Linked DNA regions of Homo sapiens: regions 2, 3 and 4 are each linked to region 1. Evidence: promoter capture Hi-C in 16 types of primary human blood cells and fetal thymus (Javierre and others, 2016). All regions are on one chromosome and are shown on one strand. The core of a region is centred on a gene start or on the middle of the fragment in contact, and the rest is flanking DNA. Distances in the headings are between cores, read along the strand shown. Region 1 has its middle 15 kb from the start of ZNF267. Region 2 holds the start of ZNF646 (zinc finger protein 646). Region 3 holds the start of PRSS8 (serine protease 8). Region 4 holds the start of STX1B (syntaxin 1B).

Evidence for each region. The method cuts DNA at HindIII sites, captures the fragments that hold promoters and counts their contacts. A CHiCAGO score of 5 or more calls a contact.
Region 2: the fragment with the promoter of ZNF646 here is called in contact with a fragment that was not itself captured in region 1 in 3 of 17 cell types (naive CD4 T cells, erythroblasts and non-activated CD4 T cells); the score reaches 5.7 in naive CD4 T cells.
Region 3: the fragment with the promoter of PRSS8 here is called in contact with a fragment that was not itself captured in region 1 in 4 of 17 cell types (fetal thymus, naive CD4 T cells, total CD4 T cells and 1 more); the score reaches 7.4 in fetal thymus.
Region 4: the fragment with the promoter of STX1B here is called in contact with a fragment that was not itself captured in region 1 in 5 of 17 cell types (fetal thymus, endothelial precursors, total CD8 T cells and 2 more); the score reaches 5.9 in fetal thymus.

What each region holds. Positions count from the first base shown.
Region 1 is chr16:31,855,655-31,862,557 of GRCh38, reverse strand. No RefSeq gene overlaps it. Among named protein-coding and RNA genes, the nearest start is that of ZNF267, 15 kb to the left of the region's middle. RefSeq lists a silencer at 2,985-3,074. The HindIII fragment of the contact is 526 bases long and covers 5,010-5,535 here.
Region 2 is chr16:31,071,367-31,078,073 of GRCh38, reverse strand. ZNF646 (zinc finger protein 646) reads right to left here and starts at 3,652. Exons shown (of 3, transcript NM_014699.4): 1 at 3,443-3,652; 2 at 1-1,828. The coding sequence starts at 1,749. It overlaps ZNF668 (zinc finger protein 668), which reads left to right and starts at 3,834. Exons shown (of 3, transcript NM_024706.5): 1 at 3,834-4,415. RefSeq lists enhancers at 2,886-3,418, 3,774-3,913, 3,419-3,952, 4,572-4,866, 4,158-4,958 and a silencer at 4,224-4,683. The HindIII fragment of the contact is 1,677 bases long and covers 2,009-3,685 here.
Region 3 is chr16:31,131,430-31,138,555 of GRCh38, reverse strand. It overlaps PRSS8 (serine protease 8), which reads left to right and starts at 2,829. Exons shown (of 6, transcript NM_002773.5): 1 at 2,829-3,142; 2 at 3,385-3,402; 3 at 5,168-5,330; 4 at 5,603-5,874; 5 at 5,961-6,127; 6 at 6,221-7,123. The coding sequence starts at 3,058. The coding sequence ends at 6,547. RefSeq lists enhancers at 1-80, 3,768-4,714, 5,663-6,608. The HindIII fragment of the contact is 17,481 bases long and covers 1-7,126 here.
Region 4 is chr16:31,007,017-31,014,332 of GRCh38, reverse strand. STX1B (syntaxin 1B) reads left to right here and starts at 3,695. Exons shown (of 10, transcript NM_052874.5): 1 at 3,695-3,966. The coding sequence starts at 3,937. RefSeq lists an enhancer at 3,158-3,659. The HindIII fragment of the contact is 27,284 bases long and covers 1-7,316 here.

The DNA.
Region 1 (6,903 bases), core at 4,023-6,522:
GATCCACTATGTGACCTAAATGTGTCCAGATGCTAGAAAGTATCTGATAGGGGCACAGGACAGTGGCCTGGAGGCTGAATCCAAGGGAGGGGACCCCCTGGCTGCCCCAACTCAGAGCCTGCAGAGAGCGTCCAGGAGGCAGTGCAGTGAGGCAGGATCCCGACAGAGCATGGAAATCCCTGAGTTTAGGAAACAGGATTGATGATATAAGGAGAAAGGTGGCTGGAAGGCACAGGGCTGAGTACCAGAGAGCAGGAGGGAGTGGCTGAACTGAGGTAAGACTGGAGAGTAGAAGATGGGGGGTCACTGAACCATTGGCAGATACAAGGGTAATCACCAATTAAACAAATTTGTCCCAGTGAAAGAGGAAAAAGGAACCCTGCCTTTTTCTTTCAGAGCATTTTTAAAAGAAAACTTGTCCCTATGAGTTTCTTCTCTGTCCCCTTGTGACGTATGGAAGTCTCCAAAAGTTAAGTAAGCCGCTTACCAACTTCCAACCAGGACTGTCTTTCTCAAGGGCCTGGGAGCCATCTCTCTAAAATGGAATCATTAAGGGAGCAAGTTCCCATGAGAGGGTAGGAGCCCAGCTTCCGCCAGTGCCTGGCTCTAACTTACTAACCTACTCCTGCCATAAACTATGAGACACTGGTCTTTTCTTGTCATAAATGTGATTAGTGAACACAGTGGGTACCCTTGAGGGACATGTAAAAACAGTGCTGTCAAGTCCCTTCCCTGAGGACTGGTTACTGTTTATCTCGGGAACACGCATGCACTGGTTGTAGCTGCCTGGCTATGCACAAGGGTGAGATTTCCTTCTTTCTTGCAATGTGCTAGGTTATTATCTGTTTTGTGCATCACAATGCCGTTTAATGATTCTTCAATGAAACTGTTTTCTTTCTCTTCTATCTTTCCGGAGAGATTTCCTGAGTTGGCAAGAGACTTTGTTGTTAATCATATTCCCCACCACAGGTAGTGACATCACTATGCTAGAGGGGAGCTGAAGACCTGAGTGGCAGCATCTCTCCCTGCTGCCTCAGCCAAGGCCCCAGTGCCCAGGAAGGGATGCCACCACCTGGAGTAGAGCCTCAGATGGGAACTAATATCAGTAACTTGATATTTCTGCTTGGATAATGGGCAAATTAGAGATAGCTCAGTTTAATCCATTCACAACCAAGCATTTCAGTTCTGGGGAAGACAGACTAGACATACATGTCTCTATTCTTCCCAATAAGTACAACTAAAATCCCTGGACATTATACATGAAACCAAATGGAGAAAGCTCTAAAAGGTGGAAGAAAGCAAGCATACTGTTCGTGAACCGAAGAAAGATGTGATAACAGAGTGGGGTGAAACACGGGTTTCTTTGCCCATATACTGTAGTCTTGGAGCTAAAGAAACTGGCAACTCAGATACACCAATAGGCAAAGGCAAAAAAATAAAACCAGAAAACTTTTATCCAGTGACTGCCCTACTACAGCCAAAACCACTGAAAAACCATGGCTGCCTGCCCACGTATGCCACCAAAAGCCAAATGAGAGGCTAGAGTTTCACCTATGCCAGGATGAAATGCAGACAGCACCATAGGCTTTCTTTCCCTTTTGTGTTTTATAAATTGTATTTGATGCTTTAAGGAAAAATGGTAAGATTTTCAACTATGATAATTTCTGTATATAACGTAATATCTTGATCACACACTAAAAATGCTATACTCAAAAATACTATAAATAAAACAGCCACTGCTCTCTGGACTCCTGGAATATATTTATGGGACTTTAGGCACCTCGCTGGAGTCCTGTGCTCAGAACACAGCCTGATGAGCCACAATGTCATATTTTAAGTATATATTGCATGCCTCATAGTGTATTTGCTGAGTTATGCAATTATAATCTCAGTCGAATTTATTTTTGTTCATCTCTAAAAAGACTTTGTGCTATTTGTAGTCACTCTTCATTTTCTTCCAGCCCTAGACACCATTAGTTTATATTCTGTCTCTAGAGATTTGCCTTTTCTGGACATGTCTTATGATTGGAATTCTACAGTATAAGGTCTCCGGCTTCTGCTTTCTTCTTAGCTTTTTGAAAAGTTTACTCCTCTTGTACCATGTGTCATTACGTGCCTCAGTTTTGATTGCTGAATATATTTCATTGTAAAAACATATATATGTATGGTTTTTATTTTACTTTAAGTTCTGGGATACATGTGCAGAGTGTGCAGGTTTGTTACATAGGCATACATGTGCCATGGTGGTTGGCTGCACCTATCCACCCGTCATCTAGGTTTTAAGCCCTGCATGCATTATGTATTTTGTAGGGTCCAGCCCTACAGGACCTGTGAGTTTTCTCTTTGTGTGTGGAGACAAGAGATCACAGAAATAAAGATATGAGACAAAGAAATAGAAGAAAAGACAGCTGGGCCCGGGGGAGCACTATCACCAAGACGCAGAGACCAGTAGTGGCCCCGAATGCCTGGCCGCGCTGCTATTTATTGTATACAAGGAAAGGGGGCAGGGTTAGAAGTGTGAGTCATCCCCTATGATAGGTAAGGTCATGCGAGTCATGTGTTCACCAGACAGGGGGCCCTTCCCTATTTGGTAGCCAAGGTGGAGAGAGAGAGGGGACAGCTTATGTCATTATTTCTTCTATGCATTTCTTGGAAAGACTTTAATATTTTCACTAATTCTGCTACTGCTATCTAAAAGGCAGAGCCGTGTGTACAGAGCGGAACATGAAAGTGGACCAGGAGCGTGACCGCTAAAGCACAGCATCACAGGGAGATGTTTAGGCCTTCGTATGGCTGCGGGAGGGCCTGACTGCTGTCAGGCCTTCCACAAGAGGTGGTATAGCAGAGTGTTCTCTAAATCCCCCAGGGAAAGGGAGACTCCCTTTCCCGGTCTGCTAAGTAAAGTTTGCCTGCCTTCCCAGGCACTGGCGCTACCGCTAGACCAAGGTCTGCTAAGTAACAGGTGCTTTCTCAGGTACTGGCGTTACCGCTAGACCAAGGAGCCCTCTAGTGGCCCTGTGCAGGCGTGACAGAGGGCTCACACTCGCCTTCTGGTCACTTCTTCTCATCATGTCCCTTCAGCTCCTGACTCTGTATGGACTGGTTTTTCTAAGTTATAATTGTAGGACAGAAGTTATTAATAAAAGAGTAATGCTACAAACTAATGATTAATAATATTCATATATAATCATGTCTATATTCTATTTCTAATATAACTATTCTTATTCTAATTATTTTCTTTATTATACTGGAACAACTTGTGCCTTCGGTCTCCTGCCTTGGCACCTGGGTGGCTTGCCTCCCACAGTATTTATTCTAACGCTTTCCCTATTCTTGCCCCCAACCCCCTGACAGGCCCTGGTGTGTGATGTTCCCCTCCCTGTGTCCATGAGTTCTCATTGCTCAATTCCCACTTATGAGTGAGAACATACGGTGTTTGGTTTTCTGTTCCTGTGTTAGTTTGCTGAGGATGATGGTTTCCAGCTTCATCTATGTCCCTGCAAAGGACATGAACTCATTCTTTTTTACGGCTATGTAGTGTTCCATGGTGTATTGTTTTTCCTTATTCTCACTGGTTGATATTTCGGTTGTTTACCCATTCAGCTATCATGAATAGTGCTGCAGGGAGCCTTTGTGTACACATAGGTTTTCCTATCTTTTAGTTATATAACTGATAGTGTCACATGAATAATTTGCAAATATTTTCTCCCATTCAACAAATTGTCTCATCACTGTTGATTGCTTCCTTTGCTGTGCAGAAGCTCTGTAGTTCAATATGGTCCCATTTTCTAGTATTTGTTTGTTGCTTGTGATTTTGTGGTCTTAGCCATAAAATATCTGGCTAGATCAATGTTCAGGAGGGTTTCTCTTATGTTTTATTCTAGTAGTGTTATAGTTATGGGTTTGTGTTTCAATCTTTTATTTTGAGATGATATATATATCATATATCATATATATTTTTTGAGTTGAGATATATATATATAAATATATATATTTGAAGCTAGACTTCTATCAGTATATATATATACTGATATATATATATATATATATATATATACTGATAGAAGTCTAGCTTCAAATGAATTGAATAGCTTATGCATATAGCTATCCAGTTTTTTCAATACCATTTATTGAAGAGGGTATCCTTCTCCCAACGTATGTTCTTAGTGCCATTGTTGAAAGTCAGTTACTTGTAAATATGTGGTTTTTTTCTGAATTCTCTATTCTGCTCTATTGGTCTCTGTGTCTATTTTTATACCAACACTATGCTTTTGGGGTTGCTCTGACCTTGTATGATATTTTGAAGTCAGGTGGTACAATGTCTTCAGCTTTGTTCTTTTGCTCAGGATTGCTTTGACTCCAGGCTCTTTGTTGGTTCCATACACATTTTAGACTTCTTTTGTGTGTGAAAAAGTTGGCATTTTGATAGTGATTGCATTGAATCTGTAGACTGCTTTGGTCATTTTAACAATATTAATTCTTCTGATCTATGGGCTAAACCACTAGCTAGACAAAAAAATTATGGGCATGGAATCTATGGGCATGCAATGTCCTTTCATTTTTTTATGTACTCTTCAGTATCTTACATCAGTGTTTTTTAGTTCTCCTTGTAGAAGTCTTTCACCACCACAGCTAAATTTATTACTAGGTATTTTAATATTTTGTAGCTATTGTAAATGAGATGGCTTCCTTGACTTCTGTTTCAGCCACTTACTTATTATGTAGAAATGCTCCTGATTTCTGTATGTTGATTTTGTGTCCTGCAACTTTGCTGATCATATTTATCAAATCTAATAGTTTTTTGGTGGCATCTTTATGTTCTTCTAAATATAAGATCATGTCATTTGCACAAAGCAACAATTAAACTTTCACTTTTCCTATTTAGATGCCTTTTATTTCTTTCTCTTGCCTGATTACTTCGGCTAGGACTTCCAGTACTTTGTTGAATAGAAATAGTGAAAATGAACATCGTTGTTTAGTTCTAGTCCCTAGCAGAAAAGATTTAAGCTTTTCCTTATTTAGTATAATGTTACCTGTGGATTTGTCATATATGGCCTTTATTAAGTTGAGGTATGTTCCTGTAGGCCTAGTTTGTTGAGCGTTTCTATCATGAAAAGATGTTAAATTTTGTCAAATGCTCTTTCTGCATCTATTGAGATGATTGTATGGTTTTTGTATTTCATTCTGTTAATGTGATGTATTGTGTTTATGGGTTTGTGTGTGGAAATCCATCCTTCCATCCCTGGGATAAATCCTACTTGATTGTGGCATGTTATCTTTTTGATGTGCTGTTGCATTCAGTTTGCTAGTATTTTGTTGAAGATTTTAACATCTTTATTCATCATATTAAACTGTAGCTTTCTGTTTTCATTGTATCCTTGTATTGTTTTCATATCAGGGTAATGCTTGCTTCATAGAATGAGTTACAAAGAATTCCCCCCCCTTCTATTTTTTGAATACTTTGAGAAAAATTGATATTAGTTCTTCTTTATAAGTTTGGTAGAATTCAGCTGTCAAGTTATCAAGCCCCAAGCTTTTATTTGCAGAGAGACATTTTATTACTGTATCAATCTCATTTCTCATTATTGGTTTGTTTGGGTCTTCTATTTCTCCCTGATTCAATAGTGATAGTTTGTATGTGTCCAGGAATTTAGATATTTTCTCTAATTTTTCCAGTTTGTTATCATGCAATTGTTCTTAGGAGTCTCTGATTATCTTTCATACTTCTTTCTGCAGTATCAGTTGAAATGTCTGCTTTTTCATTTCTGACATTGTTTATTTGGGTCTTTTCTCTATTTTTTGTCTAGCTAGTGGTTTATGAATGTTGTTTCATGTTTTCAAAAAAAGTTTTATTTCATTGGCCCTTTGTATTTTTTTAAGTTTCTAGTTTGCTTACTTCTCCGATTTTTATTATTTCTTTGTTTGTTTGTTTGTTTTGTTTTGTTTTAAGACGGAGTCTTACTCTGTTGCCCAGGTTGGACTGCAGTGGTGCCATCTCGGCTCACTGCAGCCTCTGCCTCCTGGGTTCAAGCAATTCTCCTGCCTCAGCCCCCTGAGTAGTTGGGATTACAGGTGTACTCCACCACACCTGGCTAATTTTTGTATTTTTTAGTAGAGAAGAGGTTTCACCACGTTGGCCAGGCTGGTCTCAAACTCGTGACCTCAGGTGATCCAGCTGTCTCAGTCTCCCAAAGTGCTGGACTACAGGCATGAGCCACTGCACCTTGACTGATTTTTATTATTCCTTATGCTTATGTTGAGCTTAGTTTGTTCTTGCTTTTTTGGTTTCTTGAGGTGTATCATTAGGTTGTTTACTGTAAATATTTCTACTTTTTTGATGTAGGTATTTACTGCTGTAAACTTCCCTCAACACTGCTTTTGCTGCATTTCATAGTTTCCAAAATATTGTGTTTTCATCTTCATTTTTTAAATATTTGTTTGGATTTCTGTATTAACCCAATGGTTGTTCTGGAGCATGTCATTTAATTTTCATGTATTTGTACAGTTTTCAAAGTTCCTTTTGCTACTGATTTTTGGCTTTATTTCACTGTAGTATGAGAAAATACTTGATATGATTTCAATTTTTAAACATTTGTTAAGACTCGTTTTCTGGCCTAACAGAGGGTCTATCCTGAAGACTGTTCCATGTGCTTCTGAGAAGAATGTATGTTTTGCAGTCATTGGATCAAGTGTTCTGCAGATGTCTGTTAGGTTCCTTTGGTCTAAAGCAACGGTGCCTAACCTTTTTGGCACCAGGAACTGGTTTCGTGGAAGACAATTTTTCCTAGGACTAGGGGAGGGGGATGATTTCAGGATAATTTAAGTGCATTACATTTATCATTAGATTCTCATAAGGAGCATACAGCCTGGATCACTGGCATGTGCAGTTCACAATAGGGTTTG
Region 2 (6,707 bases), core at 2,403-4,902, 780 kb after region 1:
GAGCAGCCCACAGATGCTACAGATATGTGCTGCTGTCTTGTCTGCTGCTGGGGTGATGTCCGTGGCCTCTTCTTCATGTTTGCACACATGGTCCTGATCTGTGTGCGGGGCTGCCTCTGCCTCCACTGGGTCAGGCGGGAGTTCTACCTTGAGGTGGCTGGGGGCACCCTCAGCCCCGATGTCTGCACTTCGGCGAGCAGCCTTGCAATGTACCCGCACGTGGTTGCGCAGGGCCATGAGATTGGGGTACTTGCGGGGACAGAGTGAGCACTGGTACTCTCCAGTCCGATGGCTGTGGCGATGGTTCACCAGGCTCCCCCGGTGGCGGTAAGCACGACCACACTCACTGCACTTATAGGGCCGATGGTCCAGGGTGGTGGTGGGGTCCTCTTCCTCTTTGTGGGTGGTCTCAGCCAGCAGCAGGGGAGCTGGTGGGACTGATGGCTGCCCATTTTCCCCAACTCCTTGCCTGGGCCTGTGATGAGCCCGCACATGGTTTTTGAGGGCAGCCGCATTGAACAGCTGCTTAGAACAGAGTGAGCAGGGGTAGACACCTGTCTGGTGGCTCTTTCGATGGTTGATGAGGCTCCCAGCATGGCGGTAAGTACGGCCACAGTCCCCACAGCGGAAAGGCCGGTATTCCTCCAGGCCACTGTCCTCCAGCTCCCCAGAGGTGCTGAGCTCCGCAGAGCCATTCAGCATCTGTGCACTGGGGAGCTGGTCCTGGCTGCTCTCATCTGTGTGCCCATTGGTGGTGGGCATCCCTTTCTCCTCCCAGCGTGGCTCCTGCCTTTCACCCTCATGGGACTGCTGGTGTTCCAGCAGCTCCCGGGGGAGCCGGAAGACACGGGGGCAGTGGGGACAGTGGTAAGGCCGATACTGGGCATGCAGTCGAGAGTGGTTCTTCAGAGCCATGAGGTTAGAGAACTCCTTGAAACAGATGGCACAGGGGTAGATGCCCAGCGTGTGGCTCTGGCGGTGGTTGGTGAGGCTCCCGGCGTGCTTGTAGGTCTTGCCACACTGACTACATTTGTACCGCCGCTCCTCCTCAGCAGGAGGGGACTGGGTGGGCTCCTGGCCCCCTGTGAAGTTCACTACTGATTCAGCCAGATACTGTTCCAAGTTGCTAAGAAGGCTGCTGGCTGGGATGGGGAGAGGAGGGGCTCTGGCAGAGTTAGTGGAGGGTCCCCAGCCGTCTGCACCATCCTCAGGACCTGGGTGGCTTGCCAAGCCTTCTCTTTGTCTGGTGGGCAGATCTTCCCACGTACCCGAAGCTGCCCTGGGGTCAGGTACAGATTCACAGTCAGGTGTCTCTTCTGTATGTTTTGTCTGGTTTTCCCAGCCTTCACTAGAGCCAAGCCTTTGGCCCCAGGAGTCAGTGGACACCGTCTCACCCTGGAGGTGTGGAGTGGCTTCCTTGGGGCGTGGGGGCCTGTGCCTGCGGCGGCCCTCAGGAGCATGTGTCCTCATATGGCTCTTGAGAGCCATGGGATTGGAGAAGTCCTTGCCACAGGTGGTACAGGGGAAAAGGCCAGTCTCGTGGGTCCGACGATGGTTAACCAGGCTCCCGGGGTGACGGTAGCCCCGCCCACACTGCTGACAACGGTAGGGCCGAGGGATGCTGTCAGCCTCCTCACTGTCCTGGTTGGGAGATGGATGGAGCAGTTCTCGGTGCCGAGAGAGCTCTGGGAGGCTGGGAAAGTGGCGCTGACAGTCGGAGCAGCTGAGTGAGGGGGGTGTGTCCTCCATGGGGCAACGTAGCAGAAACCTGGAGGTTCAGAAGGAGCAGACACGTGGCAGCACCTTCCTCTGGTGGAGGGGCCAAGGCCTAGGAAGAGGGGGCAGTGGTCAAAAGGAAGGCCTGAATTAACTTCGCCTCTTGGCTCTACGAGCAACAAGTTCACCTGAGGTCACTGAGAGGTTCCCCAAGCATCCATGCCCAAGGACCTAATTTCTACTAGATCCAATCTGCAGGCACCATCATTTAAGGCTTCCCTGTGCACAAGCTTCCCAAATATAGGAGCTCCCCTAGGCTTAAGTCATCCCTACAGGTATAGCTAAGGAAATTAAAGTTGAGAGAGATGCAACCTACTTCTGATCACAGACCTGTTATGTTCTTCAGACCAGACTCAAAAGGCATTACTGTCCTTTAAGAACAGTAGGAATCTGCTCCCTACAATCCTGAAACAAAAATTTTCTGTGACATCTTAAAAGGACACCAAAACCTTCTCTAGGCCTTTCAATAAGAGAAGTCCAAATCTTCCTACTTCATCTCTCAGCTAAACAGAGTAGCTGAGAAGCACTGAAAAAGCAGCTGTTTCCTCCAGTTAATAGCTGAGGACCTGAGAGGAGAGGTTAGAGGCCTCCTTCAGGGAAAGGGCTGGCTTGTTCCCCCACCACCCCGAGTCATTTCAGTGTCACAAGGTCTCTTTTCCTTGTGACAAGAGAGTTAAGAGAGTTAAGACTCTCTTAACTGGGCCAGGTGTGGTGGCTCACGCCTGTAATCCCAGCACTTTGGGAGGCCGAGGCTGGTGGATCACCTGAGTTCAGGAGTTCAAGACCAGCCTGGACAACATGGTGAAACCCTGTCTCTACTAAAAATACAAAAATTAGCCGGGCGTGGTGGTGGGCACCTGTAATTCTAGCTACTCAGGAGGCTGAGGCTGAAGAACTGCTTGAACCTGGGAGGTGGAGGTTGCAGTGAGCTGAGATCCCACCACAGCACTCCAGCCTGGGTGACAGAGCGAGACTCCATCTCAAAAAAACAAAAAACCCCAAAAGACTCTCTTAGCGACTTCTTTTATCTACTTCCCTTGAACTCAAACTATCTTCCATCTTGGGAATAACATCAATACCAGGTTGTAATGTCACTTCATTGCCTACCTTTTCTCTCCCATGCCTCCTGATCTTACCCTCACCAGTCTTTCTCATTTTTTTCTTCTGCCTCCTCTCTTAATACTGATGATGACAGCAACTCATGAAGAGTATTATATTACCATGTGCCAGGCACTGTGCTAACTATATTCATTGTGTTACTCAATCCTCAGAACACACGGCAATGCCTGTTATTCTAGTTCACGTAACAGCAAACCCCCTGACTGAGGCGGTCTTCATCCCAAAGCCCTTGCTCTCTCATGCCCCCTACATCGTCTTGTCCTTCTCCAACTCTGACTCTTCTTCCCATGGGACCCCAGTACAACTGTCTCCGACCGTAAACCCCTTCACTGAACCTGCCCCCGGAATTCTCACCTCACAAAGCCCCTTTGATCAAAAGTCCCCTCCCCTAGTCAACCACCAATGAAGTCCTCTGACCTCACTCATCTCGTCTGCCAATTTCCTCTCAGGACGCCTACCTCGCACCGGCGGCCCCCTCTCCTTCCCGCCGCGGGCGCGTCAGTTGGGGACCGCGAACAAGAGCGCGCCTGCGCACTGGGACCCTTACCCTAACTGCAGCCGCGCGCCCCAAGGGGTGGCTGTCGGGGGGCTCTCGCGCTCCCACACACGCACACTCAGCCAGGGTTCCCGGGAGGTGGGAGGGAAGGGAAAGAGGGAAAGGAGAAGGGGGGAAGAGGAAGGAGGTAGAGAAAAGAGGGCGCAGCTGGCATGAGCCAGGAGTCTACTCCCAGCTCTACGGACACTTCCTATTGTTACTAGGAAACAGGAAGTGTCCTTAGGTGCAAAAGCTTCCCCGCGAAACTTCCGCTTCGGGAGCACTGCCTGTCCCGCCTCCGAGCCGCAGTTTTACGCAGACACACTTCCGGCGCTAAGTTCTAGGTCTGCACGGCTGACTCCGCCCACGTAGGTCACAACGCGGCGTCTTTGCACGCTAAGCTAGCCACACTTCCGGCAAGAGCAGCTAGAATCGTTCCGGTGCATATTGAATAGGCGCAGAAAGGGAGAAAAAGATTCTACAGCCCTGGCCACAGTACTTTGGTGACACTTTTCGTGGGGCTCTCTGGAGGACTTTTCCCAAGGCAGATGGAGAAAACTTCGTGAAACCCACTCCTTGCTATTAAAGGAAATGTTGTGGAATATAATTGGACTTAGGTTTTGCAGAGCTTGAGCATGGCCTTTTTGTCCTCCCACCTTCTGGTTCTTGAAGACATTGCCGGTGACCTGGCCCCAGACTAACACAAGGCGGGCGTATACCGTCAGCCTGCCTGGCGTCCCCTTGCCTCAGCACACACAGAGACCTCTTGCAAGATGCTTCTCTGCCGCCATAGGCTGGAGGTTCCCCGGGAACTTTCCCTTCCTTCCTAGCTGAGGAAGATCCCTCACTTCCGCTCGCCGCGCCACCGGTCCCACCTCCCCGCCCCCCGCTGGGTCCTAGCGCCGGCCCCTGTTTGGCAGGGTCCGGGCTCCGTCGGTGCGAGGAGCCGACGCCGACGCCACGGAGTCAGCACAAGTCTCATCAGGTAGGAAACGTCGGCGGGAAGCCGCGAGGGCCCCGGGCAGCTCCCACGCGGCCACGATCCGAGCTGGCCTCAGTTTCCCTGCGGGCGCCGAGGGCGGGCCGGGTTGGCCCAGCGCGAGCAGCGCGGGCGGGGCGGGCTGTGAGCGGCCCCGGGCGCATTGCGGGCCCAGCAGGTCCTAGAACCCGCCGGCTGTCTCCGCGGTTCTGGGCTGCGGACACCCAGGCTCGGCCCGCGCGGCTGCTGGCCCGGCGCGGTGTGGTCCCGGGGGTCCTAGAGCCCGCCATGTTTTGGGTTTTTGTCCCGGTCGCGTGGCCCGCGCTGCAAGATCCCAGGCGCCGGCGGCCCCCTCCCCTGCTGAGGCCCGGCCACCACTCCCGCGGTCCTAGAGAACGCCATCTTGCAAGCCTTTGTCCCTCATTCGGCCTTCCGTCCATTCATTTGTTCATCTCCTCATCCTTCGTTCAGTCCTCCTTGCCACGTCCTCCGAAGCCACGTTTTCTGAGGCTTATAACCGGGGTCCTGCCCTCCAGGGGCTGCCTGGCTGGCGGGGGCGCCGCGTACAGACGGTTGCGAGGAGCGAGGAGCTCCGGGTTTCTGCAACTCTCGGCTCCTCGGCGCGCTTCGTAGGCCCCACCGCCCTTCAAACTCCCACAAACTTAAGGGACCCCATTTTACTGATGAGGAAACTGAGGTCCAGAGCGGCGTGGGGCCCTTACCTCTCTACTGCCATAAAGTATTCCTGAGGGCACTAGGGAAGGGGGTTCTTGAAGGATGTAAAGGGGCTTTCCCGTTGGAGAAGGCAGGCAAGGGCTCCCCGAGCCCAGGAAACTGCATCTAGAGGTGGAGGATTGAGAATTGTGGCTGGAGGTTCGGTCGCTGCCGGGAGGAGGACTCTGTCGCTGGAGCTGAGGCTGGAAAAGTAGGTTGGGATCAGGTTGTGAACTGGCCCGGTAGGAGGCCTAGGATATGATTAGCGCTCACTTCTGCAGGGTTCATCCGCTCACTACGTCACTCCTGGCCGTGAGGCCTGTGTGGTGACTGCTTGTTTAGAGATGGGAAGATTGAGGTGCCTCCTTTTTCTCCTCATCCCTGCCCCAGGGTCCTAGCCTAGGATTTTTGGAAATTGAATCTTTGCTTGCCTAGTGAGACAGCAGAACTTCATCCCCTTCCTAAGCCAGTAGTGAGGCAAAGCAAGGCTTCATCGCCACGACAGGGAGCCCACTGTGGGATATTGGGGCAATAGTTGAGCCTTGTGGAGTTGGAAAGGTGGAGGAATTTAGTTAATAAACAGTTATTGGTGGACATTCTCACAAACTCCTACTGTGGAGGAGGCAGAGGCTACAGACCTGGGTTCAAATTTCATCTGAGGTTGGTTCTTTCCATTTGTTTTGGGTCACCACACAGGGTTCTGGGTGTAGAGGAGGCAGATGATCGGTTTCCTAGCCCTTTGCCAGCCTGGACTCTGGTGCTGGTGATGAAGAATTAACAGCCAAACCATAAGATGTGTAATGCTAGCAAAGCAATAGTCAGGGCTCAGAGAGCAGGTGTTTGGGATTTGAACACTGGCTGGGACCGTGACTAGTAAGCTTGTTTCTTTGTGGTGTCACTTCTCATAAGAACGCTAATCCTACTGGACCAGGGCCATACCCTTATGACGTCATTCAGCCTTAATTACTTCCATAAAGGCCTTGTCTCCAAATACAGTCACAATGAGAGTTAGAATTTCAATATATGAATGGACAGGGAACACAAACATTCACTCATAATGAACTGCTAGGCAGCTGTGCAGTTGGCTTGAGTAGTTGAGTATTATGCACAAAATGCTTAGAATGATACCTTGCCCATGGTAAGCTTGCAAGGAGTATTGTCCAGATGACACCATAAAGGAAATTAGAGAGGAGGGGTGCTGGTCACTGTGGCTCATGCCTGTAATCACAGCACTTTAGGAAGCCATAGTGGAGGAGCATCTGAAGCCAGGAGTTCTTGAGACCACTGTCGGCAGCGTAGTGAGACCTCCATCTCTATATACAAAGAATTTTTAATAAATTAGCGAGGTGTGGTGGTGGGTGCCTATAGTCCTAGCTACTCAGGAGGATTGCTTGAGTGCAGGAGTTTGAGGCTGAAGTGAGCTATGATTGAGCCACTGCACTCCAGGGTGACAGAGTGAGACCCAATCTCTAAATAAAAATAAAGGCCAGGCACGGTGGCTCACGCCTGTAATCCCAGCACTTTGGGAGGCTGAGGCGGTCGGATCACTTGAGGTCAGGAGTTCGAGACCAGCGTGGCCAATGT
Region 3 (7,126 bases), core at 1,580-4,079, 720 kb after region 1:
CTGCCACTTTCACATTCTGCCCAGAACTTGGGTCCCTTATATGTGAACCTCACTCCCTTACCCACTGCTTACCTGCACCTCCCTGCATTCATTCAACCCGTGTTCCCTGGTGGCTACTAAGTCGTGGCACAATTGGGGTCTGATATATAAGCCCACAAAGTCCTCCCAATCTAGTGGGGACACATGTGGACATCCCTGGCTGGGATTGGGAAGATGTCATAGCAGTGATGTTTGAGCACAGAAAAAGGGAAGGTGGTTTCCAGCCAATGAATCTACAATTAAAAAGTAACGCAAAACCAGAGACGAGGTGCGGCAGCTCATGCCTGTAATCCCAGCACTTTGGGAGGATCGCTTGAGGCCAGGCATTCCAGACCAGCCCGGGCAACAAAGCAAGACCCCCATCTCCACTTTTTTTTTTTTGAGACAGAGTCTCATACTGATGCTCAGGCTGGAGTGCAGTGGTGCAATCTCGGCTCACTGCAACCTCCACCTCCTGGGTTCAAGCGATCCTCCTGCCTCAGACTCAAGTAACTAGGATTGCAGACTCAAGACACCATGCCGGACTAATTTTTGTATTTTTATTTAACTTATTTATTTTTAATTTTTTGAGACAGAGTTTTGCTATTGTCGCCCACACTGGAGTTCAATGGCGCAATCTCGGCTCACTACAACCTTCACCTCCCAGGTTCAAGCAATTCTCCTGCCTCAGCCTCCTGAGAAGCTGGGATTACAGGTGCCCACCACCATGCCCAACTAATTTTTGTATTTTTAGTAGAGGTGGGGTGTCTCTATGTTGGCCAGGCTGGTCTTGAACTCCTGACCTCAGATGATCCGCCCACCTCAGCCTCCCAAAGTGCTGGGATTTACAGGCGTGAGCCACTGCATCTGGCCTATTTATTTTATTTATTTATTTATTTTGAGATGGAGTCTCCCTCTGTTGCCCAGGCTGGAGTGCAGTGGCACAATCTTGGCTTCCCAGGTTCAAGCAATTCTCCTGCCTCAGCCTCCCGAGTAGCTAAGATTACAGGTATGCGCCACCACGCCTGGCTAATTTTCTTTGTATTTTTTAGGAGAGACGGGGTTTTACCATGTTGGCCAAGCTGGTCTCAAACTCCTGATCTTGAGAATGATCCTCCCACCTTGGCCTCACAAAGTGCTGGGATTATAGGTGTGAGCCACCACATCCAAGCTCCACAATTTTTTTTGTTTGTTTGTTTTTTGAGACGGAGTCTCGCTCTGTCGCTCAGGCTGGAGTGCAATGGCGCAATATCTCGGCTCACTGCAACCTCCACCTCCTGGGTTCAAGCGATTCTCCTGCCTCAGCCTCCTGAGTAGCTGGAATTACAGGTGCGTGCTACCACGCCTGGCTAATTTTTGTATTTTTAGTAGAAATGGGGTTTCACCATGTTGTTCAGGATGGTCTCAAACTCCTGACCTCGTGATTCGTGTGCCTTGGCCTCCCAAAGTGCCGAGATTAGAGGCGTGAGCCACCACACCCAGCCTCAACAGGTGTTTTGAACGGCCAGAGTGGCCCTCAAGGAGGATACATGCCTCACTCCCACCGCAGCCACACGGCAAGCCTTCTTTCCCTGAGCCTCTGCCCTCTGCACCCCATCCCCCCATCTTCGCCTTACCACCTTTTATAATCCCTTTCGGTCTCAGTTTCCAAGGCAATTCCTCGAGGACCCTTTCACAATGCCAGCCTTTGCCAGGCTGTGGTGTGCTCACGCCATTCTTTTTCATCACTATTCCTAGCTTGAAATTATTGTGTAATTGCAATTTTTTTTTTTAAGACAGGGTCTCCCTCTGTTGCCCAGGCTGGAGTGCAGTGGCGTGATCATAGCTCAATGCTTCGTTGAACTCCTGGGCTCAAGCAATCCTCCTGCCTCAGCCTCCCAAATAGCTGGAACCATAGGCATGCGCCACAATGCCTGCCTAATTTTTATATTTCTTTGTAGAGATGAGGCCTCGCTATATTCCCCAGGCTGGTCTGGAACTCCTGGCTTCAAGTGATGCTCCAGCCTCAGCCTCCCAAAGCCGACTAGCCACCTTGCCAGCCTGTTTGTGATTATTTGATTGAAGTGTGTCACCCCTACTTCACCATGAGCTCAGGGCTCAAGGGGGACGGGGCTGGTGCCTGTTTTGTCCTGGACACCTGGGAACATCATAGGCACTTAGGAAATGTCTGTGGGATGATTGGTGCTGCTCCACAAGCTCGCCACCACCCATGAGGTGCAGGCATCGCAGAAAGGGCCTGGCAGGGGACAGACCATAGTGTCTTAAGCTCCCATAACCAGCCTAAGGAGGGAGGGAAGAAGGGAGGAGTGGCTGTGGCTCCAGATAATAAAAGCTGGGGCCAGGCCCTGGGGGGCATAACTGGCCTGAGATAACCTGAAAGACCTGAGGCGGAGGAGAGTCGTCACATTCCAGGGAGACTGCACACACACACAAACCACATGCACGTGCATGCACGCACACTCAGACACACACACTACACACACAGGGACACACACAGCCTACACATGTGCACATACAGCCTGTACATGCACACACACACACATACCACACCACATAAGAGGACACACACAGCCTACACAGGCATACACACACACCACATACACACTACACACCGGGACACACACACAAAAGGCCTATGCATGTGCACACACATACACACGGACACATACATGCACACACACGGGCCTGCAGCTCTGAAAGGACTCATGACTTTGGTGGCAAGAGGAGCTGGCGGAGCCCAGCCAGTGGGCGGGGCCAGGGGAGGGGCGGGCAGGTAGGTGCAGCCACTCCTGGGAGGACCCTGCGTGGCCAGACGGTGCTGGTGACTCGTCCACACTGCTCGCTTCGGATACTCCAGGCGTCTCCCGTTGCGGCCGCTCCCTGCCTTAGAGGCCAGCCTTGGACACTTGCTGCCCCTTTCCAGCCCGGATTCTGGGATCCTTCCCTCTGAGCCAACATCTGGGTCCTGCCTTCGACACCACCCCAAGGCTTCCTACCTTGCGTGCCTGGAGTCTGCCCCAGGGGCCCTTGTCCTGGGCCATGGCCCAGAAGGGGGTCCTGGGGCCTGGGCAGCTGGGGGCTGTGGCCATTCTGCTCTATCTTGGATTACTCCGGTCGGGGACAGGTAAGTGAGGACGTGGGGGCAGGGTGGGGACAATGCACTGGAGGGAGCCGGCGTGATCATTTTCTGGGGTGTGCCCTTGTCTGGGGCCCAAGAAAACCCCCGGCCTCCCTAGCTCTTGGCCTCTCTTTCCCACCTTGGCTCTGTCAGGGAAGGGGCCAGCCCTCTGGAGCAGTGGTGGGTACTAAGGGGTCAGGGAACCCGAGTCTTCCCTACTCACCCCTCCTCTTTCTCTTTCTTTCTAGGAGCGGAAGGGGCAGAAGGTGAGACTTTCCTCGGAGAGGGAGGAGGGGAGGGGGAGGTGACTTGGATCGGATTCCCCTGGGGTTTAACCAGTGCCTGGCCTTCAGCTGGGCTGCCTTCCAACTAGATTCTCTTAGGGCTCCCAGAGTGGGGGGTTTTAGCCCTCACCTTATGGGCAGAGAAGCAGGGACTTGCCCAGGGCACACTGCCAGTGAAGGTGCAGCTGGGATTCAGATCCACGTCTGACTCCCAAAGTGGGGCAATCGAGGTGGTTTTTTTGGTTTGGTTTTTGTCTTTTGAAACAGGGTCTGGGTCTGTCGTCACCCAGGCTGGAGTGCAGTGGCCCGATCGCAGCTCACTGCAGTCTCAGTGATCCAGCCTCCCGGGCTCACGTGATCCTCCCACCTCCCCACCTCAGCCTCCCTAGTGGCTGGGACTACAGGTGCATGCCATCACACCCAGCTAGTTGTGTTTTGTTTTTGTTTTTGTTTTTGTTTGGTAGAGATGTGGGTCTCACTATGTTGGCCGGGCAGGTCTTGAACTCCTGGGCTCAAGCGATCCTCCTGCCTTGGCCTCTCAAAGTGCTGGGATTACAGGTGTGAGCCACCGTTCCCATCCTGGAGGTGGTTTTGAGGGAACCAAACCAAGGGTCTCCTTTCTTGGAAGGCACCCAACCCAGCTCTGAGTCAGACCGGCTTTCAATCCTGGCTTCCCCATGCACTGGCTGTGTGTCATTGGCCAAGTCCCCCCACTTCTCTAAGCCTTAGACTCCTCACCTCTAAAATGAAGCTGGTCATGTCCGTCTCCTGGGGCTGTGGAGAGGATGCAGGGAGATGAGGAAGCGAAAGCCCCTCCAGGGCCTGGCACAGCCGCTAGGCTCTCTAAATAGTGGCTATTGTCATGATGATAAGGGAGAGAAAGATCTGGTCTGCAATTTTCTCTGCTCCTAGATGACTTTGTGAAGAGCAGTTGGGCTCCACTCCAAAGTGGCCTCAATGGGGGTGGGGCTGGGGCTGTCCTGGAAACTAGACATTCACATCACAGGAGCCCAGTTCTGCTGTTGGTTTGTTGAATATATGTCCACGACGCCACAGGCACTGCAGACATGAGAATCTGCCCCTAGGGAATGCCCAGATTGGTGTGGTGGAAACAGACACAGTTGTGGACTCCGGAACAATTGTGAGACTGGGCAGCATCGGGGAGCATGGTGGAGGTTGGGGGGTGCTGGGCTCGGAGGCAATGCCCAACTCAGCCAGCAGAAGCCCGCCTGTCTACGGAGGGGCTGCTGTTCCAATCAAGCATCCACAGGCAAAGGGAAGTTTGCCAGACAGTAAGGATGGGGAAGGGCATACCAGGTAGAGTGACCTGGATCAGCCAAGGTCCCGGGTAAACAAGTGTGTGGCCTGATGTACACAACTGAAGGGTCCAGAGGGGACGGCTGGGTCCGATGGCGGTGCCATGGTCTGTCTGGAATGTATCTTAAGGACCGCGTGGAGCCAAGAAGGGTTTAAGCAGGGCTGTGGCCTGGTCAGATTGGGGGTTTATGAAAATCTTCAGACTTGTAAGGGGCGGGATGGATGGAAGGCTTGCAAGGAGAGAAGCTGCCATGAGACCTGAATTAGGTAATGGGTAGTGGACAGAAGGGGCACAACTGCCCATGCCTGGGAGGGGACAAAGGGGTGTTGACTCCTGTGAACCCACTTCCCAAGCTCTATATCAGAGCTCCTGGGCTGCATAGGAGTGGCCAGGCTAACAACCTGACCCCTTCCCTTCCTCCCTGGGCAGCTCCCTGCGGTGTGGCCCCCCAAGCACGCATCACAGGTGGCAGCAGTGCAGTCGCCGGTCAGTGGCCCTGGCAGGTCAGCATCACCTATGAAGGCGTCCATGTGTGTGGTGGCTCTCTCGTGTCTGAGCAGTGGGTGCTGTCAGCTGCTCACTGCTTCCCCAGGTACCAAATGGTGAAAGTCAAAAGTGGGCTGGAGGTCAAAGTTAATGGGTCAATCCAGGTCAGAGGTTGGGGTTCTTGGGTTGGGTCTGAGAGTGTCAGTTCTAAGTCTGGAAGGACCAGTTAGGAGTGAAGGTGAGGGGTCAGAGGTTACATGATAAAACTAAGGTGCAATTTGAGACCTAAAAGGGGCTGATCGGAATCAGGGGTTGGCAGTGGGGGTTGGGGAACAAGGAGAGGTCTCCTGGGTCTCAGCCTTTGCCCCCTGCCTGCAGCGAGCACCACAAGGAAGCCTATGAGGTCAAGCTGGGGGCCCACCAGCTAGACTCCTACTCCGAGGACGCCAAGGTCAGCACCCTGAAGGACATCATCCCCCACCCCAGCTACCTCCAGGAGGGCTCCCAGGGCGACATTGCACTCCTCCAACTCAGCAGACCCATCACCTTCTCCCGCTACATCCGGCCCATCTGCCTCCCTGCAGCCAACGCCTCCTTCCCCAACGGCCTCCACTGCACTGTCACTGGCTGGGGTCATGTGGCCCCCTCAGGTGAGGTGGGACGCTGGGTGCCTAGAGGTGTGGAGGGGCACCTGACTTGGGGAGGGGCCCAGGGTAAGCCTCTTTTACCCCCACAGTGAGCCTCCTGACGCCCAAGCCACTGCAGCAACTCGAGGTGCCTCTGATCAGTCGTGAGACGTGTAACTGCCTGTACAACATCGACGCCAAGCCTGAGGAGCCGCACTTTGTCCAAGAGGACATGGTGTGTGCTGGCTATGTGGAGGGGGGCAAGGACGCCTGCCAGGTAAGCACAGGCCCGGGGGGCAGATGACCAGTGCAACTTCGGAAAGGAGGCCTGGCCCGGTCCTGATGGCTGCTGTGTGGCTTCTCTCCTCAGGGTGACTCTGGGGGCCCACTCTCCTGCCCTGTGGAGGGTCTCTGGTACCTGACGGGCATTGTGAGCTGGGGAGATGCCTGTGGGGCCCGCAACAGGCCTGGTGTGTACACTCTGGCCTCCAGCTATGCCTCCTGGATCCAAAGCAAGGTGACAGAACTCCAGCCTCGTGTGGTGCCCCAAACCCAGGAGTCCCAGCCCGACAGCAACCTCTGTGGCAGCCACCTGGCCTTCAGCTCTGCCCCAGCCCAGGGCTTGCTGAGGCCCATCCTTTTCCTGCCTCTGGGCCTGGCTCTGGGCCTCCTCTCCCCATGGCTCAGCGAGCACTGAGCTGGCCCTACTTCCAGGATGGATGCATCACACTCAAGGACAGGAGCCTGGTCCTTCCCTGATGGCCTTTGGACCCAGGGCCTGACTTGAGCCACTCCTTCCTTCAGGACTCTGCGGGAGGCTGGGGCCCCATCTTGATCTTTGAGCCCATTCTTCTGGGTGTGCTTTTTGGGACCATCACTGAGAGTCAGGAGTTTTACTGCCTGTAGCAATGGCCAGAGCCTCTGGCCCCTCACCCACCATGGACCAGCCCATTGGCCGAGCTCCTGGGGAGCTCCTGGGACCCTTGGCTATGAAAATGAGCCCTGGCTCCCACCTGTTTCTGGAAGACTGCTCCCGGCCCGCCTGCCCAGACTGATGAGCACATCTCTCTGCCCTCTCCCTGTGTTCTGGGCTGGGGCCACCTTTGTGCAGCTTCGAGGACAGGAAAGGCCCCAATCTTGCCCACTGGCCGCTGAGCGCCCCCGAGCCCTGACTCCTGGACTCCGGAGGACTGAGCCCCCACCGGAACTGGGCTGGCGCTTGGATCTGGGGTGGGAGTAACAGGGCAGAAATGATTAAAATGTTTGAGCACAACTT
Region 4 (7,316 bases), core at 2,446-4,945, 850 kb after region 1:
GTGCAGTGGCACGATCTTGGCTCACTCCAACCTCCGCCTCCCAGGTTCAACCATACTTGTTGCCTCAGCCCCCAGAGTAGCTGGGATTACAGGCACATGCTACCACACCTGGCTAATTTTTATATTTTTATTTTTTATTTTTATGTATTTATTTATGTATTTTTGAGATGGAGTTTCGCTCTTATTGCCCAGGCTGGAGTGTAATGGCATGATCTCGGCTTACTGCAACCTCCGCCTCCCAGGTTCAAGCAATTCTCCTGCCTCAGCCTCCCTAGTGCCTGGGATTACAGGCATGTGCCACTACGCCTGGCTAATTTCATATATTTAGTAGAGACAGGGTTTCTCCACGTTGGTCAGGCTGGTCTCGAACTCCCCACCTCAGGTGATCCACCTGCCTCAGCCTCCCAAAGTGCTAGGATTACAGGCATGAGCCACTGCGCCCGGCAGGTCACATTTGTTTTGGGGGCAATCACATTAAGGACTGGGGAGGAAGACATATGTAAAGGAAAGGGGCTTTGTTCAAGTGGGAAGACCAGAGAGAGAAGGCTGTGCTGACGGCCCAGGTGAAAGACAGTGAGGGCCTAGACTGACCTGAGGTGGTGGGGACAGGAGAGGGCCTAGAGACGGCTCTGGGTGTCACAGTTGAGAGAGGAGCTATAAGAGCATGCTTTTACAAGAATGGGTTGTGAGCCAGGTGCAGTGGTGTGCCCCTGTAGTCCCAGCCACTCAGGAGGATGAGGTAGGAAGACTGAGCCCAGGAGTTTGAGTCCAGGCTGGGCAACAGAGTAAGACCCCATCTCTTAAAAAAGAAGAAGAAGAAGAAGGAGAAGGAGAAGGAAAAAAGAAAGAAGAAAGAGAAGGAAGAAGAAGAAGAGGAAGAGGAAGAAGAGGAAGAGGAAGAAGAGGAAGAGGAAGAAGAGGAAGAGGAAGAAGAAGAAGAAAAGAAGAAGAAGAAGAAGAAGAAGAAGAAGAAGAAGAAAGAAGAGGAAGAGGAAGAGGAAGAGGAAGAGGAAGAAGAAGAAGAAGAAGAAGAAGAAGAAGAAGAAGAAGAAGAAGAAGAAGAAGAAGAAGAAAGAAGAAAAGAAGAATGGGCTTTGCAATCAAAAGATACAAACAAGGTCAGACACAGTGGCTTATGCCTATAATACCAGCACTTGGGAAGCCGAGGTGAGAGCCCAGGAGGCTAGGACCAATCTCGTCTCTGCAAAAAAAAGAAAAAAAGAAAGTTAAATTAGGGCCAGGCACAGTGGCTCACACCTGCAGTCCCAGCACTTTGGGAAGCCAAGGCGGGTGGATCATTTGAGGTCAGGAGTTCCAGACCAGCCTGGCCAACATGGCGAAACCCTGTCTCTACTAAAAATATAAAAATTAGCCAGGCATGGTGGCAGGCACCTGTAATCACAGCTACTTGGGAGGTTGAGGCAGGAGAATCACTTGAACCCAGGAGGCGGAGATTGCAGTGAGCCAAGATCGCGCCATTGCACTCCAGCCTGGGTGACAGAGCGAGACTCTCTCTCAAAAAAAGAAAGAAAGAAAGAAAGAAAATTAGCTGGACACAGTGGTGTACACCTGTAGTCCCAGCTACTCAGGAGGCTGAGATGGGAGGATTGCTTGAGCCCAGGAGGTCAAGGCTGCTGTGAGGTGTGATTGCACCACTGCACTCCAGCCTGGGGAACAGAGTGAGACCCTGTCTCTGGAAAAAAAAAAAAAAAAGCAAACAAGACCCCAGCCCTGCCCTTTATTAACCTTGTGAACTTGGATATGTTATGTGACCATGCAAAGCCTCAGTGTCCTTGTCTATACACTTGGGATCTTAGCAGTGGCTACTGTGAGGTTGGGAGGTTTCTGGGAGCTACCAGCATAGTGAATGCAACACGTTGGATGCCCAGAACGTGCTGGCATTATAATGGCGGGGAGGCAAGGACAGCTTTCTGTGCTTTGAGTGGCTGGGTGGATGGAGATGACGCCATCTCTGAGGGAGAACACAGGAAGGAACACTTTGGGGACAGCCACCTCCTTGAGGTCCCCACGTCAGCGCTAGCCATGCCCACTGTAGTCATGGATCTACTCATGGCTCTGGTGGCATCTTCAATCTCTGTCTTCTTGGTGCCCAGCTCAGAGCTTAGGCATATAGTAGGGGCTGTCTTACAGGGGGAGGATCTGGCTCGCAGGTACAGATGTGGGCACTGCAGACACGGAGGTGCAGAAAGATGCAGGTAAAGAAGGAAGAGAATGCCAGGCATGGTGGCCCAGGCCTGTAATCTCAGCACTTTGGGAGGCTGAGGCAGGAGGATCGCTTGACCCTAGGAGTTCAAAACCAGCCTGGACAACATAGTGAGACCCTGTCTCTACAAAAAATAAAATTAGCCAGGTGTGGTGGCGCGTGCCTGTAGTCCCAGCTACTCAGGAGGCTGAGGTGGGAGGATCACTTGAGCCTGGGACGTTGAGGCTGCAGTGAGCCGAGATTGCACCACTGTACTCTAGCCTGGGCAACAGAATGAGACCCTAACTCAAAAAAAAAAAAAAAGAGAGAATGGACGGAGCCCAGGGAACCCTGAGGTTGAAGGGCTGTGGGAAAAAAGGTAAGGACCTGGAAAGAGGCTGGGAGACAACACTCACAGATCAGGTTGGGGGGTAGGTGGGCGGAGCACCACAGACAGGAGGGTTTCAGGAAGAGGGGCTCATCAGGGTCACATGCTGCTGAGAGGTCAGGGATGGTAAGGCCCGACTGGCGGTGTGGGATGAGGGTTTATCAGACACAGATTTGGCACCAAGGAGGTCACTGGGTACCTGGCAAGAGAATGCCGGGTGCGGTGGCCCAGGCATGGAATCCCAGCACTTTGGGAGGCTGAGGCAGGAGGATCGATTGAGAGTCAAGACCTGTCCCATTGGGGACCGGCGCCCCATTGCAGGGGGTGGGAGGAGCTGGTGTGGTGTAAGGATGGGGAGAGGAGAGGTGGGCATCAGAACAGGAGGTCACTCAGACCCTCAGGGGCACCTGATTTCCCCTCCCACTAAGGACAAATTTCATGTTCAACAGTCAGAGCCATCTGCAGATGGGCCAAGAGGTCCTGGGAGGTAGTGAGCACCCTGTCCCTGGAGGCAGACAAGCAGAGCTCCGAGACCCACCGCGGCGGGAGAGGCCCAGGCTGTGCAACACAAGCCCCGTGTCCTTCTCAGCAAGCACCTGGCTGGTTCCCTGCATCGTAAAAACCACACAGAGGGTCGGTCTTTCTATTTATAGTGTCCAAAGAGCCTCCTGCAAGAACACACATGGGCTCGCACCCAGAGGTGGTCGGCGCGCAGCCTCACGCAGACACCAGACACAAAACACAGCCGCGATCTGTGTCTCCTGGAAAGGGATCCACATCCTGGCTCCCAGGTTATTCCCTGAATTCATTCCGTCACCCCCTCTTTCCGCCGGGCCACCCCACCCCCCGGGCCACCCTAGCATCTCCGCTTGGCTCTCCGCATCTCTCCCTGCTCCTCGGGCTCTGCCCACCCCCACCCGCCTCCAGGCCTCTCCCGCCCCCTCCTCGGGTGTCCCCCAAGCCCGTGACTACAACCCCCAGGCGCCCCCGGCCCGGGTGCTGCGCATGCCCCCTGCTCCTTGCGCGCTCCCGCTCCCCCCGCCCTCGCTTCCTCCTCACCTCCCTCCGCCCCCCTCCCCCGCGCTCGGCTCCCGCATCCCTCCATCCTACCCTGTGCCGCAGCCGCATCGCCACCGCAGCCCGGCAGAGCCGAGCCCGGCCCAGGCCCCTGCCCCTGCCCGGCCCTCGGCCAGTCGCCCCCGGCCCCGCCCCCGCCCGCAGGCCCCCCGCAGCGGCCGCGGCGCCCCCCGGCGCCCCCAGACCCCGGCCTCCGGCACAGAGGCGGGAGACCCGGAGCAGCAGCAGAGGCAGGAGGACTAGGAGGAGGAGGAGGAGCCGTCGCAGGATGAAGGATCGGACTCAAGAGCTGCGGAGTGTGAGCTTGGGGGTGGGGAGAATGGGGGGGCGGGACCCCAATATTGGGGGAGCGCGTGGGGATGGAGTGGGGGAGGTGCTGGGACGTGGGGGCGAAGGATGAGATCGGAGGTTGGTAGCCGGAGCACCCCAGTATCTTCAGGCGCCTGATGTCTCTCCAGTGAACCTGCATTTTGGGGACAGTGCCTGGAAGGGGTTGGAGGCCATGAAGACACAAGGGGGCAGGAGAGGTCTCAGGGGCCTCGAACACCCCGCATTCCCAGGAGGGCCCCGGGGTCTGGTCTGGGGATGGGAGAGAGTGGATATCAGGAGAAACCGGAGGAGACTGTCATCCCCTGGGCAGGTTTGCCAAAGAGAAGCATGGGGGCGGTGACTGGGCCAGGCTGAGAGTCTAGCAGGACCCAGATTCAGGGGATGCTACGGGGAAGGACACAGGTTGGGACTGAGATGCCAGCACCTGGCAGTGAATGAAGTGTGTGTGTGTGTGCACACGCGTGTGTCACTCCCTATAGGGAGGGGGCATCTCTCCGAGACAGGGAGGGAAGAGGTGGCCTCCGGAGAGAGCCAGAGGGCCAGGGCCTGAGACAGGGTGACCCAGAGGTGGGAGATGGGGATGCAGAGGAGAGGGCCATGGAACACGGGCCGTGCTCTGCTTGGGGGAACTGGGGCACCCCGGGCAGTCAAGGGCTGATGCAGGCCCCAGGTCTGCAGGCCTGAAGAGGCCCGGCTCCAAGAGTCTGGCCAGGCAGTCCCTGGTTTTGGGGGGACAGGGGAAGGACTGCAGTGGAGGCTGCTACCTGGAGGAACTGGGGAGTGGGGTTCGATGAGAATGGTTTCAGGGGCAGGGAGGACGCTGGGGTATTTGGAGAAATGACCTGGGGCCCGAGGAGGCAGCACTGACAGTCCGCACTGTGCTGGGCTGGTGGTGTTATGTTAATAAGGGTACCGGCCCCGGCTGAGCTGCCCAATGCACTGAGCCTTTACAGGGAACTGGTGGGTTGTTACCCCAGGGGTTATTACCCCACTTGACAGATGAGGAAACTGAGATTCAGGCGTGGGAAGGGACTTGTCCAAGGTCACCAAGCAAGTGGGTGGGGGGCAGACTGCAATCTGGGTTTCCTGTCTGCTAGGTTGACACAGGTCTCTGCTTTTCTGGCCTTTGAAACAGAAGTTTCAGCACTGGGGGTGAAGAGCTGTCCCCTGGATTTGGGGGTGGGGACCCAGGTTACAGACAGACGAGAAGAAGGTGTTTGGAGGCAAGTGACCGCTGTCTCTGGGGACAGACAGGTTGCCAAATGGGAAGCAAGGAGGAGCTGGTGGCTGAGGGAGGGAATTTTAAAGGTTTCTTTATTACATTTTTACTGAATATACACTCAGGCATGAGGAAAGTGACAGTAATAATAAACATTGTTTGAAGTGTTTTATGCATATTCACTCATTTTGATCCTCACAGCAATCCTATGAGACTGGTTATCTCATTTCATAGATATATAAATATCTTTTTAGATATATAGATATATGTTATCTCATTTTATAGATAAGGACACTAAGCTCAGAGAGGTTAAGTAATTAGACCAAAGTCACACAGCTGGTAAAGGCAGGATTCAAACCCAGGCAGGCCGGCTTCAGCATCGGTGCTGTCAATTCCCCTCCTCAGTTTGCAGAGCAGGCTTTCATCCGTGATGTCATTAGAGCCCCACTGACCTCCTGGCAAGTGGACGGGGAGGCTCTTTCATTTTAGAGTTGGGGAAACTGAGGCCCAGAGTGGTTGAATAACTTTCCAAAGGTCACACAGCTAGCAGGTGAGGGATCCGGACTTGAACCCAGTTCCCCTGCTACCAGGACTATTCCATGACTCCAAAACCCAGGGAAATGGAAGTGGGTTGGGATCAGGTGGTGTGGAATTGGGGTACAATTCGAGAAAGAGGGAGGGAAAAGGCTAAGCGGGGTAAGGGGGAGGCAGGGGAGGGGGAGGCCTCATGAATGAGTCAGGGGCCCCTGCTCAGAGGTAAGGAATCCTGTTGGCTGTGGCTGCCGGAGGTGGTGTGGAAGGGTGAAGGGGCTGAGTGGATGTGGTGGCTTTGGTATTAGTCACAGCTCAGGGAAACTGGAGATTCAAGAGGGGGCGGGCGGGGTGGGAAAAGCTGACAGATTCAGGTAGCGTAAGGGTCTCCCTGCTACAGTTGAAAGCAAGGAGCCTGGGATGCAGGAGACACCTGGCAGGGTGTGGGGGACCTGGAAACGGGGTCTCTGAGACACTGGGAGGGATGAGGCAGGGGCGGTGGTGGGAGGGGACATTAGCCCAGGGGACTGATTGTCTTTCCAACAGTACCTTGGCATTCCCAAGGGGTTCTCAAGTCCGTTTGTCACACAGTGGTTTCGGGAGCCAGACTGTCTGGGTTCAAATTCTAATTTTGCTACTTCCTGTGAGACCTTGGGCAAGTTGCTTAACCTCTCTGGTCCTCAATTTCTTCGCGTATGAGTTGGGAGAAGTAAGAGTGCCTGTTTCACAGGGTTGTCCTGAGGACTGGAAGTAGTTAATATGCATCAGGTGCCTAGGAGGGGGCCTGGCGCCCAGCAGTGCTGTGTGTCTGTTACCCAGCAGATGGCTTGTTTATTTCTCTTCAACACCACACAAGCCCCCTGCGATGGGCAGGACATGGCCCCTATTTTATTTTGGAGTACATTGAGGGCCAGAGGGGGTAAAAAAAACCTGACTTGTCCAAGGTCAGATAGCTTTTAATGGTTGAGGTGGGCTTGAACCAGGGTTTTCTGCGTCCAGTTTACCAGGCAACCTTGGTTGGTGCTAGGCTGGTTGTGGAGGCTGTGAAAAGGAGTTAATCAGCTAAATAGGTGTCCCAGGGTCTAAGGAGTGAAGCCAGAGTGGGGCTCCAGAGGAAAGAGCAGAGTGAGTGAGGTGGAGAGGAAGGTGGGTTATGGGAGAAGACAGGAGGGGCACAGGGAGGGCTGAGGTCTGAGACGCAGCTGTGGAGTCGGGTGGGAGAAGTGCGGAGACACCCTGGGAGGAAGGTGGGGCCTGCACTGCAGGAGCCTGAATCTGAGGCTGGACAGGATGAAGGCTGCTGAGGGACCGCCCCGTGCCCCAAAGGCCCTCAGGTATGAGGCAGGCACAGTAGGTGCTTTAGAAACGCAGCCCTGAAATCACAGGGTGCAGAGACCAACGAACCCTGGGTGATGGATCCATATCCTCCAGCTGCTCTGGGCTGCCTTTATTTATATTTAAAAAAATGTTTTTAGAGACATGGTCTTCCTCTGTCACCTAGGCTGGAGTGCAGCGGTGCAATCACAGCTCACTGCAGCCTTGACCTCCTGGTCTCCAGGGATCCTCCT